Regions from separate parts of the Homo sapiens genome. Here regions 2, 3 and 4 are each linked to region 1. Evidence: promoter capture Hi-C in 16 types of primary human blood cells and fetal thymus (Javierre and others, 2016). All regions are on one chromosome and are shown on one strand. Each heading gives the region's core, a stretch centred on a gene start or on the middle of the fragment in contact. The rest is flanking DNA. Distances are from core to core; before and after follow the strand shown.

Region 1 (2,985 bases), core at 367-2,866:
TTATGTAACATCTCAGAGCACTGGCTCCACATCCCTGTCTTGGCTCTCTGTGGCTCATCAGTTCCAGAATAACTCCGTTACCAGAATAACTCCATTACTAAAATTCTACCGGGCAGCACTCTATAGGAGGGAATAGAGACAGACACCACATATATTGCACACACAGATAAAATGGATTAAGGAAAACAAGATAATAATAGTGAGAGGGACTGGTTGGCTACTTTAGATTGAAGGACCTGTGAAAAATGTCCAGGGAGGTCATATTTAAGCCGGGATAAAAATGAAAAGGAAAAAAGTGAAAATGGTGGGGCTGGGGAGCTAGATGGAGAACACAGCCACGGAAAAGGCCTTAGGGTTGAGGCAAGTTGGAAAGAAAGCTCTAGTAGCTGGGGCTGAGTCAGCAGGGGAGAGAGTGGTAGAAGAAATCTATGGGGTAGGTCAGGGCCAGACCACCAGGGCTTCAGTAATTTGAGTAAAGATTTAGGAATTATTATTATTATTATTATTATTATTTTTCTGAGAGAGTTATGAGAGGGTTATAAGTGGGGGAATGATGTAGTCTGATTATATATTTACCTTTACCTCACTTATCCTGATTTCATTAGTTGCTTACTTACCCATGTCCCTGCCCGATTGCACAAGTCTGGATTTTTGACGTCCCTAGTATATTGAGTCATGTCCCATCAGCTCAATATGTTAGTAATAACTGGTTGAATTGAATTAGCTTTTTTTTTTCAATCTTTTTTTCCTTAAGAAACAGGGTCTTGCTCTGTCACCCCGGCTGGTGTGCAGTGGCACAATCATAGCCTCCAACTGCTGGGCTCAAGCAACCCTCCTGCCTCAGCCTCCTGAGTAGCTGGGACTACGGTCAGGTACACAAGGCCTGACTATATTTTTTGTTCGTTTTTTTTGCAGAGAGGGAGTCTTGCTATGTTGCCCAGGTTGGTCTCAAACTCCTTACCTCAGGTGATCCACTTGCCTTGGCCTCCCAAAGTGTTGGGATTACAGGCGTGAGCCACTGTGCCTGGCAAGAAATGAATTTTTATTTTTATTTTTGAGATGGAGTTTTGTTCTTGTTGTCCAGGCTAGAGTGCAATGGCTTGATCTCGGCTCACTGCAACCTCCACCTTCCAGGTTCAAGCAATTCTTCTACCTCAGCCTCCTAAGTAGCTGGGATTACAGGCGCCCGCCACCACCCCCAGCTAATTTTTGTATTTTTAGTAGAGTCGGGGTTTCACCGTGTTAGCCAGGCTGGTCTTGAACTCCCGACCTCAGGTGACTGGCCTACTCGGCCTCCCAAAGTGCTGGGGTTACAGGCACGAGCCACCATGCCCGGTCAAGAAATGAATTTTTAAACGCTGCCATACAAAACACTATGCTGAGATCATCCACTTCCCCATGAACCCTGTCATGAGCTGCAAGATACAGACCACCACTGCCTCCTTGGAAGTTACTGAATTCTTAGACCAGAAGAGGAGTTAATGAAGTACTAGGCAAGCTTACTCATGTTTGTATGGTTTAATGATTAACAGCAGAAGTCAACAGCCCGATTTAACGCATGTGGGTGCTTGACACAGAGCCTGCTATATAGTATTCTCCAAAAACCTCAGCTAGTGCTATTACTGCATATGATGTAGGTTTAGTTTTCCAAGTTCTTCCGTGGCCCTTTTTGCTTATTATATCAATCCTTGGTGGGAGATAGAGGAAGCATTTTTAGTGCTATTTTACAACTGAGGAAATAGAGGTTTGAAGAGAACTCAGGAACTCTCAGGGTTACCCAGCATTGTGAGTGACAGAGCCTGGATCTGAACGTAAGTCTGCTCCAGACTTCTGTTTCCTGAAGCATTCTCTTGAAGTCCCTTGGTAAGGAGGTGTAGTCTGAAGCATGTTGTACAGGAGCATGAAAGGTTAGGCACAGTGATTCACATTCACTCTCAATTTCTCTTGCTAATGGCAAACTTGGCAATATGACTGTTAAGGCTAGGGATAAGTCGTTGTGGCCACTGAGTAGGAAAAGCTCCACGTCCACCAGAGGCCCAGTTTACTCTGAAAAGCAAGTGCATCTCTGCCACTGGAAGGCTGGCATTTGCTCTCGTGCTGCCATTGAGCCACGCTGGTTCTCTGCTTCCAGTTTCCTTTTCTTTTCTTTTTTTTTGTTTTGTTTTTTGAGACGGAGTCTTGCTCTGTCGCCCAGGCTGGAGTGCAGTGGCGCGATCTCGGCTCACCGCAAGCTCCGCCTCCCGCGGGTTCACGCCATTCTCCTGCCTCAGCCTCCCGAGTAGCTGGGACTACAGGCGCCAGTGACCACGCCCGGCTAATTTTTTGTATTTTTAGTAGAGACGGGGTTTCACCCTTTTAGCCAGGATGGTCTCGATCTCCTGACTTCGTGATCTGCCCGCCTTGGCCTCCCAAAGTGCTAGGATTACAGGTTTGAGCCACCGCGCCCGGCCCTGTTTCCTTTTTGTTTGTTCCCCTGATACCCTGTATCAGGACCAGGAGTCAGTTTGGCGGTTATGTGTGGGGAAGAAGCTGGGAAGTCAGGGGCTGTTTCTGTGGACAGCTTTCCCTGTCCTTTGGAAGGCACAGAGCTCTCAGCTGCAGGGAACTAACAGAGCTCTGAAGCCGTTATATGTGGTCTTCTCTCATTTCCAGCAGAGCAGGCTCATATGAATCAACCAACTGGGTGAAAAGATAAGTTGCAATCTGAGATTTAAGACTTGATCAGATACCATCTGGTGGAGGGTACCAACCAGCCTGTCTGCTCATTTTCCTTCAGGCTGATCCCATAATGCATCCTCAAGTGGTCATCTTAAGCCTCATCCTACATCTGGCAGGTAAGTGAGTAGGTGCCCTGGGCGGGAAGAAGGGAGTAGAGGGGGGTTAGAAGCCAGAGAATGGGGTAGGGGAAGGGGAGGGGATGGTGGTGGTGGATTAATGTAGATGTTCTTTGGGTACCGTTGTATGGCTATGAGTTAACTAGTGAGC
Region 2 (3,423 bases), core at 490-2,989, 2.1 Mb after region 1:
CAGCACTCTGTAAAAACGCACCAATCAGTGCTCTGTGTTTAGCTAAAGGTTTGTAAACGCACCAATCAGCACTCTGTAAAATGGACCAATCAGCGCTCTGTAAAATAGACCAATCAGCAGGATGTGGGCAGGGCCAAATAAGAATAAAAGCAGGCCACCCGAGCCAGCCGCGAAAACCCACTTGGGTCCCCTTCCACGGTGTGGAAGGTTTGTTCTTTTGCTCTTCATAATAAATCTTGCTGCTGCTCTCTCTTTGGGTCCACACCACCTTTATGAGCTGTAACACTCACCGCTAATGTTTGTGGCTTCACTCCTGAAGTCAGCGAGACCACGAACCCACCAGGAGGAGCGAGCAACTCCCGTTGCGCCACCTTTAAGAGCTGTAACACTCACTGCAAAGGTCTGCTGCTTCACTCCTGAAGTCAGCAAGACCAAGGAAGAAACTCTGGACACATCTGAACATCTGAAGGAACAAACTCCGGACACACCATCTTTAAGAACGGTAACACTCACTGCTAGGGTCCACGGCTTCATTCTTGAAGTCAGCGAGACCAAGAACCCACCGGAAGGAACCAATTCCGGACACAATAGTAGGCATTTGGTAATATTAGCAAGACTGTAAATGCCCAGAGACATGAAATAAGAGGCCATAGGTATTTATAGGTCATTTGGTATGGTTGAAGTATGTGGTAATGAGCATTGATGCTATAATGAAAAGCAGGTATTTGTAAGACAAGAAGTTTAAACTTTATCCTGACACCTGTGGAAAGCCACTGGAGGGTTTTAACAGTGCAGAAAAATACTAGAAAAGAGGGCAGAGAGGGGAGTAAAAATCAAGCTAAGGTTTTAGGGATGTAGAGGTCTGTACTTTTCACTTAGTCATGGGCTTGCAAATCCTCTCCATTAACACAGACAATCAACACTGTTGGCTTATGAGAAAACAAGTCATTAAGAGAAAAGCCACATTTAACACTCTCACTTTGCACCATCTTATCAGAGCAGGGAACTTCGACATAAAGAAATAACTAGGCCGAGAGCAGTGGCTCATGCCTGTAATCCCAGCACTTTGGGAGGCTGAGGCGGGTGGATCACCTCAGGTCAGGAGTTTGAGACCAGCCTGGCCAAAAATTAGATGGGTGTGGTGGTGCGCTCCTGTAGTCCCAGCTACTTGGGAGGCTGAGGCAGGAGAATCACTTGAACCCGGGAGACGGAGGTTGCAGTGAGCCGAGATCACGCCACTGCACTCCAGCCTGAGTAACAGAGCGAGACGAGAGAGAGAGAGAGAGAAAAGAAGGGAAAGAAAAGAAACTAGCCACATAGCAAAGTAATAAAGTCAGGTGAGGCTTAAGCATAAACTCCAAGAGACTTCTCGTTCTTTCTCTCCCACTTGAAATCACTGGGTGGAGGGTATAAGGGCTTCTCTTGCTTCTGTGACTTTACCAAGACTTCCTATTGTGTTCTCTACACCCTGCCTGTGCCAAGCTTTCTTCAGACTCTTAATATCTGTGATGAGCAGGGATGGGTCAGAAGACAGTTCTGCTCAGGTCACAACCTGCACATCCAAGGATGGCCTGTGCCACAATTTCATCATATTTCAACATTCTAATGTGGTCACATTTTCACCAGCATCCACTTAATGCCACTTAATCAGGTGCTTTCCCCTGGTTTTTCTCTCCACCTATAAAACTTAAGGTTTTATGTGAAAACTCAAGGTAATGATAGCTGCTAAAAACACATATTTCTCCTGAGTTAGCTGCATTCTTCCATTCCTGCTTCTGCTCACAGTACTCAAAGTGATATTTATTTTTAATTTTACTATTTTTTCTAATTACCTAGGTAATATATATTTCACTTAGAAAACATCAAAAATATAGAAAAACACACAAAGTAAAATTAAAGGTTGCCTGTAATCTTATCATTCAGATATATCTCTTAATACTCCTAAGATGTTCATCTTTTTCTTTATGGCTTCTGCCTTTGCTTTATAAAAAGCTTTCTCCATCCCAAGTCAGATAAATTTCACCCGTATGTGTTCATTTTTTATTAAACATCTCATATCTGCAACTTAAGTTCTTTTAAACTGGCCTTGATTTTAAAAGTTCAGAGTCTATTAACTTATGCTAAATCATGTGGCTGCTTTAGATGCCAGAGCATTGGATAGGGAATGGAAAATTGAACTGGGAAATGGGAGTAATTGATCTTCACCAATGGACCCAGCCTCTCTGTGGCTAAATTCCCCTGTGTGTAAAAATGCAGGAAATTACATTTGGACCCCAAATTTACTTTTTCCCTACTTTAAAATACATCATATACACAGAAGGCAGCACAGTGTCATGAACAATAATAAAACAAATGCCCACTAATCCACACATGGATTTTGACAGCATGTAACAATTTCCCTGATTTCTAATCCACTTAAAAAGTGGTGGCCCCTCTTTTTGTGCTCTGACAGTTAAGACAGTTTGCATAGCTCATCTCTCCTTGGAGGAACTTGTCTCTCTTTTGAATTAGCTTACTTGGTTGCCTCAGAAGCTATTCTTTCTTACGGGCTCAACAAAAGTAATGATTTTGTCATTTACCTGTCATTTTCATTGTTAGGGTGAGAGTGATGAGCTTTGCAGCTATATCCTAAGCAGAAGTGTAAGTATATTTCAATTCCACCTTTATCCTATATCAAATCTATATACTTGAGCCTGTCTGGGAGGCTACATAAGAATCATGCTGCTTTAATAATAAACCTTTCTTCCTAGCAATGTAAGTCACCCCTCAATCTTCCAAAATTTCTTCATCCCTTTATTAAGCTTCCCAGGTGACTTTAGAATTATATTCTCTAGTTAAAAAAATGCTTTTGACATTTTTATTAGAATTGAAGTGGTTGAATTCTTGAGTTATGCCATTCAAGAATGGGTATGCCCTATCATTTATTCCAGTCTTCTTTCAAATCCCTCAATAAAGTTTTACAGTTCTATTTCTATGGGTCCTGCCTACTTATGTAAGTTTGTTCCTAGATATTTTATATTTTAGTTTCTATTTTTAATACTTTTTAAAAATTATCTTTTCTTTTGAGTTGTTGATTTTGAAAGATAAGCTTTAGCTGGGCACAGTGGCATGTGCCTGTAGTCCTAGCTACTTGGGAAGCTGAGGTGAAGGGTTTGAGCCCCAGAGCTTGAGCCTGGGCAACAGAAACAGTGAGACCCCTGTCTCTTAAATAAGTGTGTGTGTGTGTGTGTGTGTGTGTGTGTGTGTGTGTGTGTGTGTGTGTGTATGGCATATTGATTTTGTAACCAACTGCCTTATTGAACTCTACTTACTTCAAATATTTTTTCTGTTTACTTTATTAGATTGCTAGATAGGCAATTATATGTAAATAATAATTTGCCTCCTCCTTTCCAAAGATTTTTCTCTTATTTCATTTGTTTTACT
Region 3 (3,450 bases), core at 948-3,447, 2.1 Mb after region 1:
GCCATCAAAATACCTAACAAAATCAATACCTTTGCCATCCACATTTAGGTTCCAATGTCTTAACTGAAAAGCACAAAATTAGGATACATGATGTATGAAGGCCTATTTTGCTAAAATAAGCCGAGTGGTGACAGCTGAGGCTACAGAGTCGAGCAGACCTTGGTCTAAATCCTAACTCTAATTTACTAGGTGAATGGCCTTGGGGAAGTCATATAATTTTCTGGGTCTCAGTTTTCCCATCAGTAAATAGACTAATAATAATTACCTCATAGCCTTCTTAAGAAGCTCAAATGCAAGTAAAATACTTAACCTGACACTTAAAAGGGCTCAATAAATTTTAGATATTATTACTTGTAGAATGAGGAAAATAATACTTACTTAATACTGTTGATGGATTAATAATTTAGTGCATCCTACAATGTCTAGCCCATGATAAACACTGATGGCTAGTGTTATTTTTAAATTAGGCCCTTTGGCCAAGTATGGTGGCTCACGCCTGCAATACCAGCACTTTGGGAGGCCACGATAGGAGGACTGTTTGAGGCCAGGAGTTCAAGACCAGCCTGGGCAACATAGCAAGGCCTTGCCTCTGTTTTGTTTATTTTATTTTGAGACAGAGTTTCACTCTTGTCACCCAGGCTGGAATGCAATGGTGCGATCTCAGCTCACTGCAACCTCCGCCTCCTGGATTCAAACGATTCTCCTGCCTCAGCCTCCCAAGTAGCTGGGATTACAGGGACGCACCACCGCACCCCACACCTGGCTAATTTTTGTATTTTTAGTAGAGACGGGGTTTCACCATGTTGGCCAGGCTGGTCTTGAACTCCTGACCTCAGGTGATCCACCCATCTCAGCCTCCCAAAGTGCTAGGATTACAGGTGTGAGCCACCACACCCGTGTTTCTTTTTTTAAGGGCATAAAAAATAAAACAAAGTTAGGCCCTTTGAACAGTTAATCTCTCCTGTCCCCAGCCCCCAAATAAGTCCTGTGAACTGTAAGCTTTAAATACACAATTTCAAAGTTTTTTCTCAAGTTTATAATCATAAACGTTTATGGTTCTATGTAGTTGTAATTAGCGAGTAGGGTACACTATGTTTGTCACCTCTTTGGACCTTGGTTTCTTTGTCTGTGAAAAGAGGAATTAGACTACATCATCTATAAGGCCTCTCCTAACCTTAATTCTATCTCTAATCTCATCACCAACAGCATGACAGAAACATGAACCCCTTTGCTACAAACCAATCTGAAAGATTTCTTGAGTCAGGCCCATACCTGCTGTACCCGCCTAGCACAGTACCTTGCGCTCTTCAAATCTTCAATACATATTTGGTGAATTAAATATGTTGCTTCATAAATTAAACATACTATGAATTAATAATGTCAAAGCTTTCTGAATTCTTATAATACTTTCAGGACTCAAATAATTCATGAACTGAATTATCAAGCAAAGACCAAACTACTATAATCAAATTAAATTAAAGTATTATTCCAAATGGGGTTCTTAATTTAGAAGCACAGAATATCAAATCAAAAGTTCCTATGTGCCCTCTCCTGGCCAATTGCTGGAATAACACTCAATTAAAACAAAATGAAGCAACCTTAAAACAGAAAATACAGACAAATTCTAATTCTAATTATCAGTCCTCATCTGAGAGTGACCTAAGTATCTCTGGTCACTCACTCTTCCTTGAGACACTTTCTTTAATTGGGTTCCAGGACACTTGGGGTTTTCTTCTCCCCTCTCTGGCCACTCCCCCACAGTCTCCTTTGTTGTTTCCTTGTCTCCCTCCCTGGTCTGTAATATTGGCTGCCTTAGGCAGGAATCAATCCTCGGACTCTTTCTATCTACACTCACTCCCTTGGTGAAGTCAACCAGCTTTGCAGCTTTAAACATTATCCATGCATTGATGACTCCCAAATGTACATCCGTTCCCTGAACTCTATAAACTCATATACCCAATTGCCTACTCGTATCTCTACTTGGATGCTTACAACAGCTCAGATTTAACAAACCCAAAAGTGACCTACTAATATTCTCCCCAAACCTGCTCCTCTGGAAGTCTTCCTAGCTCAGTAAGTGGTTAACTCTACCCTTCCAGTTGCTCAGGTCATAAACTTTGGTGTCACCCTTCTTTCTCACACCTCCCATCCAATGCATCAACAAGATCTGTCAGGTGTGGTTAACATACTGCCAGAATCCAACCATTCACTTACCTTCACGGCCACCCTAATCCAAGCCACCATGATCTCATACCTGAAATAGCCAACGGTCTCTGCTTCCATCCTTGCTCCCCATCCCCACCCCAGTCTATTCTCAACACAGCAGCCAGAAAGAACCACTCATAAACATAAGTCAGATCATATAACTCCATGCTCAAAACCTTACAACAGTTTCCCATCTTGCTCAGAATAAAAGCCAAAGTATTTACAAAAAATAATAAGGCTCTATATGATTTATGACTGCCCCTTCCTCTCTGACCTCATCTCCTATCACTATCCCTCTCCTTTTTGTCATTGTTCCTGACACCAGATATGGTTCCTTGGAGCTGTTGCACTTACTATTCTATCTGCACAGAATGCTGTTTGTTCAGATGTTAGCACAGCATGCTTCCTCATTTCCTTCAAATCTTTACTCAAAGATTATCTTTTAGTGAGGCCTTCCCTATCTAAAACTACAAGTTCCTCTCTCAAACACACATACTTCTTATTCTCAATCTCTGCTTTATTTTCTCATAAGCAGATGTCACTATCTAATATACTCTATATTTTACTTATTTTGCTTATTTGCCCCCCTTACTATATTGTACACCCCACAATGGCAAGGGATTATTGTCTGTTCCTGTTCCCTGCAAAATCCTCAGTGCTAGAATAGTTCCCAGCTCAGAGCAGGCACTAAATACATATTTGTAGAATCAATGAAAGAATACAGAGACAGGTAAGGTAAGAGGACTGAGTGTAAATAACTATGCCAAAATTTTACACATGGTTGGAAACTGAGGAAAGCTTAAGAGGATATGCCCCCATCTAAAGGGTGGTACAGACAGGCTTGGTGGCTCACGTCTGTAATCCCAGAGACTCGGGAGCCTGAGGTGGGAAGATCACTTGAGCCCAAGAGTGCGAGACCAGCCTGTACAACATAGTGAGACTCTGTCTCCTAAAAAAAAATATTTTTTTGGCTGGGCGTGGTGGCTCATGCCTGTAATCCCAGCACTTTGGGAGGCCAAAGCGGGCGGATCGTTTGAGCCTAGGAGTTTGAGACCAGCTTGGCCAACATGGTGAAACCCCATCTCTACTAAAAATACAAAACTTAGCCAGGTATGGCGGCCTGCACCTGTAGTCCCAGAAAATATTTTGTTTAGATCCTCACTTTGACATTTAACTGTGTAACCTTCAGTAAGTCACAAAACTTCTCAAATGTATGCATCAGTAAAATAGGAGACTTGGAATTCA
Region 4 (3,169 bases), core at 385-2,884, 2.2 Mb after region 1:
CCTGGATTGATTCCTTTTGCTATAAAAGACATCTGGGTAGGCCGGGCGTGGTGGCTCATGCCTGTAATCCCAGCACTTTGGGAGGCCGAGGCAGGCAGATCACCTGAGGTCAGGAGTTTGAGACCAGCCTGACCAACATGGTGAAACCCCGTCTCTACTGAAAATACAAAAATTAGCTGGGCGTGGTTGTGCGTGCCTGTAATCCCAGCTACTCAGGAGGCTGAAGCAGGAGAATCGCTTGAACCTGGGAGGCAGAAGTTGCGGTGAGCTGAGATCTCGCCATTGCACTCCCGCCGGGGCAAGAAGAGCGAAACCATCTCCAAAAAAAAAAAAAAAAAAAAAAAAAAGGACATCTGGGTAAAATTGGCAGAACTTAAATAGAGAGTATGGAGTAGGTGGCAGTAGTGAATCGTGTTAATTTCCTGATTTCCATGGTTGTACTATGGTGACGTCGGAGCATGTCCTGTTCATAAGACACACACTAAAATATTTGGGTGTTATTGGGCATCATGTTTATGATTTAATGAAATTTCAAAAGGGTTTGGTTAATATTGTGATAATATAATTCTAAAAGTTCATTGAGAAGAAAGGGAATGGGTAAAAATGCTATTAAAGAGGAATGAGATATTGGAGTTTACCACCTAGAGTGCTTTTAACCAAGAATGTATACTTTAGTCAGTCCTTTATTGTGATTCTTGTAGGCAAAAAAAGTATTGAATTGGAGAAAAAACGGCTCTCTCAACCTAAGGCAAAGCCCAAAAAGAAGAAAAAGCCCACCTTGAGAACTCCTGTAAAGCTGGAATCGATTGATGGAAATGAAGAAGAAAGCATGAAGGAGAACTCAGGACCTGTTGAGAATGGTGTGTCAGACCAAGAAGGGGAGGAGCAAGCACGGGAGCCGGAATTACCCTGTGGCCTTGCTCCAGCGGGTATGTGGCAGAATCCTGTGTATCACTAGGATTTCATGGTCGTGTCTGGGAAACTAAGCTAGGTCCTTACTCAGTTTGAAACTTCGCTGTTCCCATTTTTCCAACTCTTGGAAACAGCATTAGTTTTTTTTGTTAAGCTTTATTCAAGTCTCTAAAATAAACATCTTTGAAGTTTTAAAGGGGTTCTAGTGGATGTTTGTGGTGGAAATAGTAAAGTTCTACAGAGAAAACTTCTTATTCAACTTGGGCAAGGTAAAACCGTGGGACGAAGCGAAGCTGGGTCAGTTGTGTACATAGGAACTTACATGGGAAAAGTTTTAACAGTATGACATCAGTAGCCACATTTGGTGAAAGAAACTACTGTCCCTTACAAATGTCTGACCTAGAAGCTACCACCACTGTGGGAACTTGCAAGCTCTCACCCCCTTACGTGGAGTTTGTACGCGGCTTTCTGTCTTCTCACAGAAAAAAAATGTGTGAATGGTTATTAGGTTTTTCTAGTGAGTTAAGCTGTAGTGATGGCTCTCAGATGTCTCACAAAACAGTGTTCTATCACTAACAAAAAAACTGTTAGGTAAAAATTTTAGCACTCTTTTTATTTTGTACATTTACTCGGGACCTGTTGAGAATGGTTTGTCAGACCAAGTGATAAATATCTGGTCCCTGGTAAAATAAACGATTAAATAGCAAACAGTGTAAGTAGAAGCAGTAACTCATACTTAATTCTAAAACAGAATCCATTGATGTGACAGTATTGAAATGGCTAGAATATAGGATACAAGGCATTCCTGATGCTCTCCATCCCAAGGGATAGCTGTTAGACACATAGTTGGGGTAAATAAAGAGCAAAAAGCCTAATGGATTTATTATTTTGGCTCATCAGAATGCTTTTCTAGTCGGGTACAGAGACACATACCTCTAGTCCCAGATCCTCAGGAGGCTGAGGCAGGAGAACCGCTTGAGGCCAGCCTGGGCAACACAGCAAGACCCCCCATCTCTTTATTTTTCTTTTTTTTAAAAAGTCTTTCTTTCACAAAATGGCTATACAAAACATGGATCAACAAGTTGTTTTTAAAAAGTTCCTGTGCTCAGGATTGTGACACCATATTGCATACACCTAGTATTCTCTATTATTAAAGTTACTCCTGTTAGTGTAATTAAATATGCAATTAGTACTTTATGACCTAGAAATGTAAAAAGTGCTTTGTCACCTGAGCAAAGTATAGGAACTCCTTGGCTTATGGTATAAAGTTGTGGAGGGCTGGAAGCTTTTTCCTTAGTCAAAGTTCAAAGTAAGGCGGGCATGGTGGTTCATGCCTGTAATCCCAGCACTATGGGAGGCCAAGGAAAGAGACTTGCTTCAACCCAGGAGCTTGAGACTAGCCTAAGCAACATAGGGAACCCCCATCTTTGCAAAAAATATAAAAATTACCAAGATAATGGCTTGTGCCTATAGTCCTAGCCACTCTGGGAGGCTGAGGAGGGGAGGATCACCTGAGCCCAGGAGGTTAAGGCCTCAGTGACTGTGATTGCACCCACTGCACTCCAGCCTGGGCAACAGTTATATCTTATCTCTAACCAAAAGAAAAAAAAAAAAGTAAGCCAGGAGCGGTGGCTCACGCCTGTAATCCCAGCAGTTTGGGAGGCTGAGGCAGGTGGATCACCTGAGGTCAGGAGTTTGAGATCACCCTGGCCAACATGGCGAAACCCTGTCTCTACTAAAAATACAAAAATTAGCCAGGCATGGTGGCTTGTGCCAGCTACTGGCGAGGCTCAGGCAGGAGAATTGCTTGGACCTAGGAGGCAGAGGTTGCAGTAAGCCAAGATTGCGCCACTGAATTTCCAGCCTGGGCGACAGAGTGAGACTTCGTCTCAAAAAAAAAAAAAAAACCAAAGTAATAGACTTACAGATTCCTGAAAACAGCTAGTTTGGGAGGTGGGAAAGGGGAAACTACTCCTACTTCTTTTCCAGTGCATTTTATCTCAAAAGTTTTGGTAATAGATGAATTGATTATATTGCTAAGCTTGGAATGGCTCTTAATTTTTACAAAGAACTGAAATTCTGTATTATTGTTATCCTTAACTTTTTTTTTCCTTTTTCCCCCATGATGTAGTTTCTAGAGAACCAGTTATCTGCACTCCAGTTTCCTCAGGCTTTGAAAAGTCAAAAGTCACCATTAATAACAAAGTCATTTTACTGAAAAAGGAGCCACCAAAAGAGAAGCCAGGTTGGTATCTAG

What was found. Contacts are between HindIII fragments. The CHiCAGO score rates a contact against its expected background, and 5 or more counts as called.
Region 2: a contact is called between a fragment that was not itself captured here and the fragment with the promoter of HAVCR1 in region 1, in 1 of 17 cell types (M0 macrophages). The highest score is 5.8, in M0 macrophages.
Region 3: a contact is called between a fragment that was not itself captured here and the fragment with the promoter of HAVCR1 in region 1, in 1 of 17 cell types (M2 macrophages). The highest score is 6.7, in M2 macrophages.
Region 4: a fragment that was not itself captured here is called in contact with the fragment with the promoter of HAVCR1 in region 1 in 1 of 17 cell types (M0 macrophages); the score reaches 5.8 in M0 macrophages.

The regions. Positions count from the first base shown.
Region 1 is chr5:157,057,747-157,060,731 of GRCh38, reverse strand. It overlaps HAVCR1 (hepatitis A virus cellular receptor 1), which reads left to right and starts at 1,616. Exons shown (of 9, transcript NM_001173393.3): 1 at 1,616-1,811; 2 at 2,777-2,834. The coding sequence starts at 2,789. The HindIII fragment of the contact is 9,361 bases long and covers 1,501-2,985 here.
Region 2 is chr5:154,972,913-154,976,335 of GRCh38, reverse strand. No RefSeq gene overlaps it. Among named protein-coding and RNA genes, the nearest start is that of MRPL22, 34 kb to the right of the region's middle. The HindIII fragment of the contact is 510 bases long and covers 1,485-1,994 here.
Region 3 is chr5:154,943,982-154,947,431 of GRCh38, reverse strand. The region is part of intron 2 of MRPL22 (mitochondrial ribosomal protein L22); the gene reads right to left. Among named protein-coding and RNA genes, the nearest start is that of MRPL22, 4.6 kb to the right of the region's middle. The HindIII fragment of the contact is 1,617 bases long and covers 1,389-3,005 here.
Region 4 is chr5:154,905,351-154,908,519 of GRCh38, reverse strand. GEMIN5 (gem nuclear organelle associated protein 5) reads left to right here. Exons shown (of 28, transcript NM_015465.5): 16 at 702-929; 17 at 3,044-3,157. Among named protein-coding and RNA genes, the nearest start is that of GEMIN5, 31 kb to the left of the region's middle. RefSeq lists an enhancer at 1-183. The HindIII fragment of the contact is 1,131 bases long and covers 1,069-2,199 here.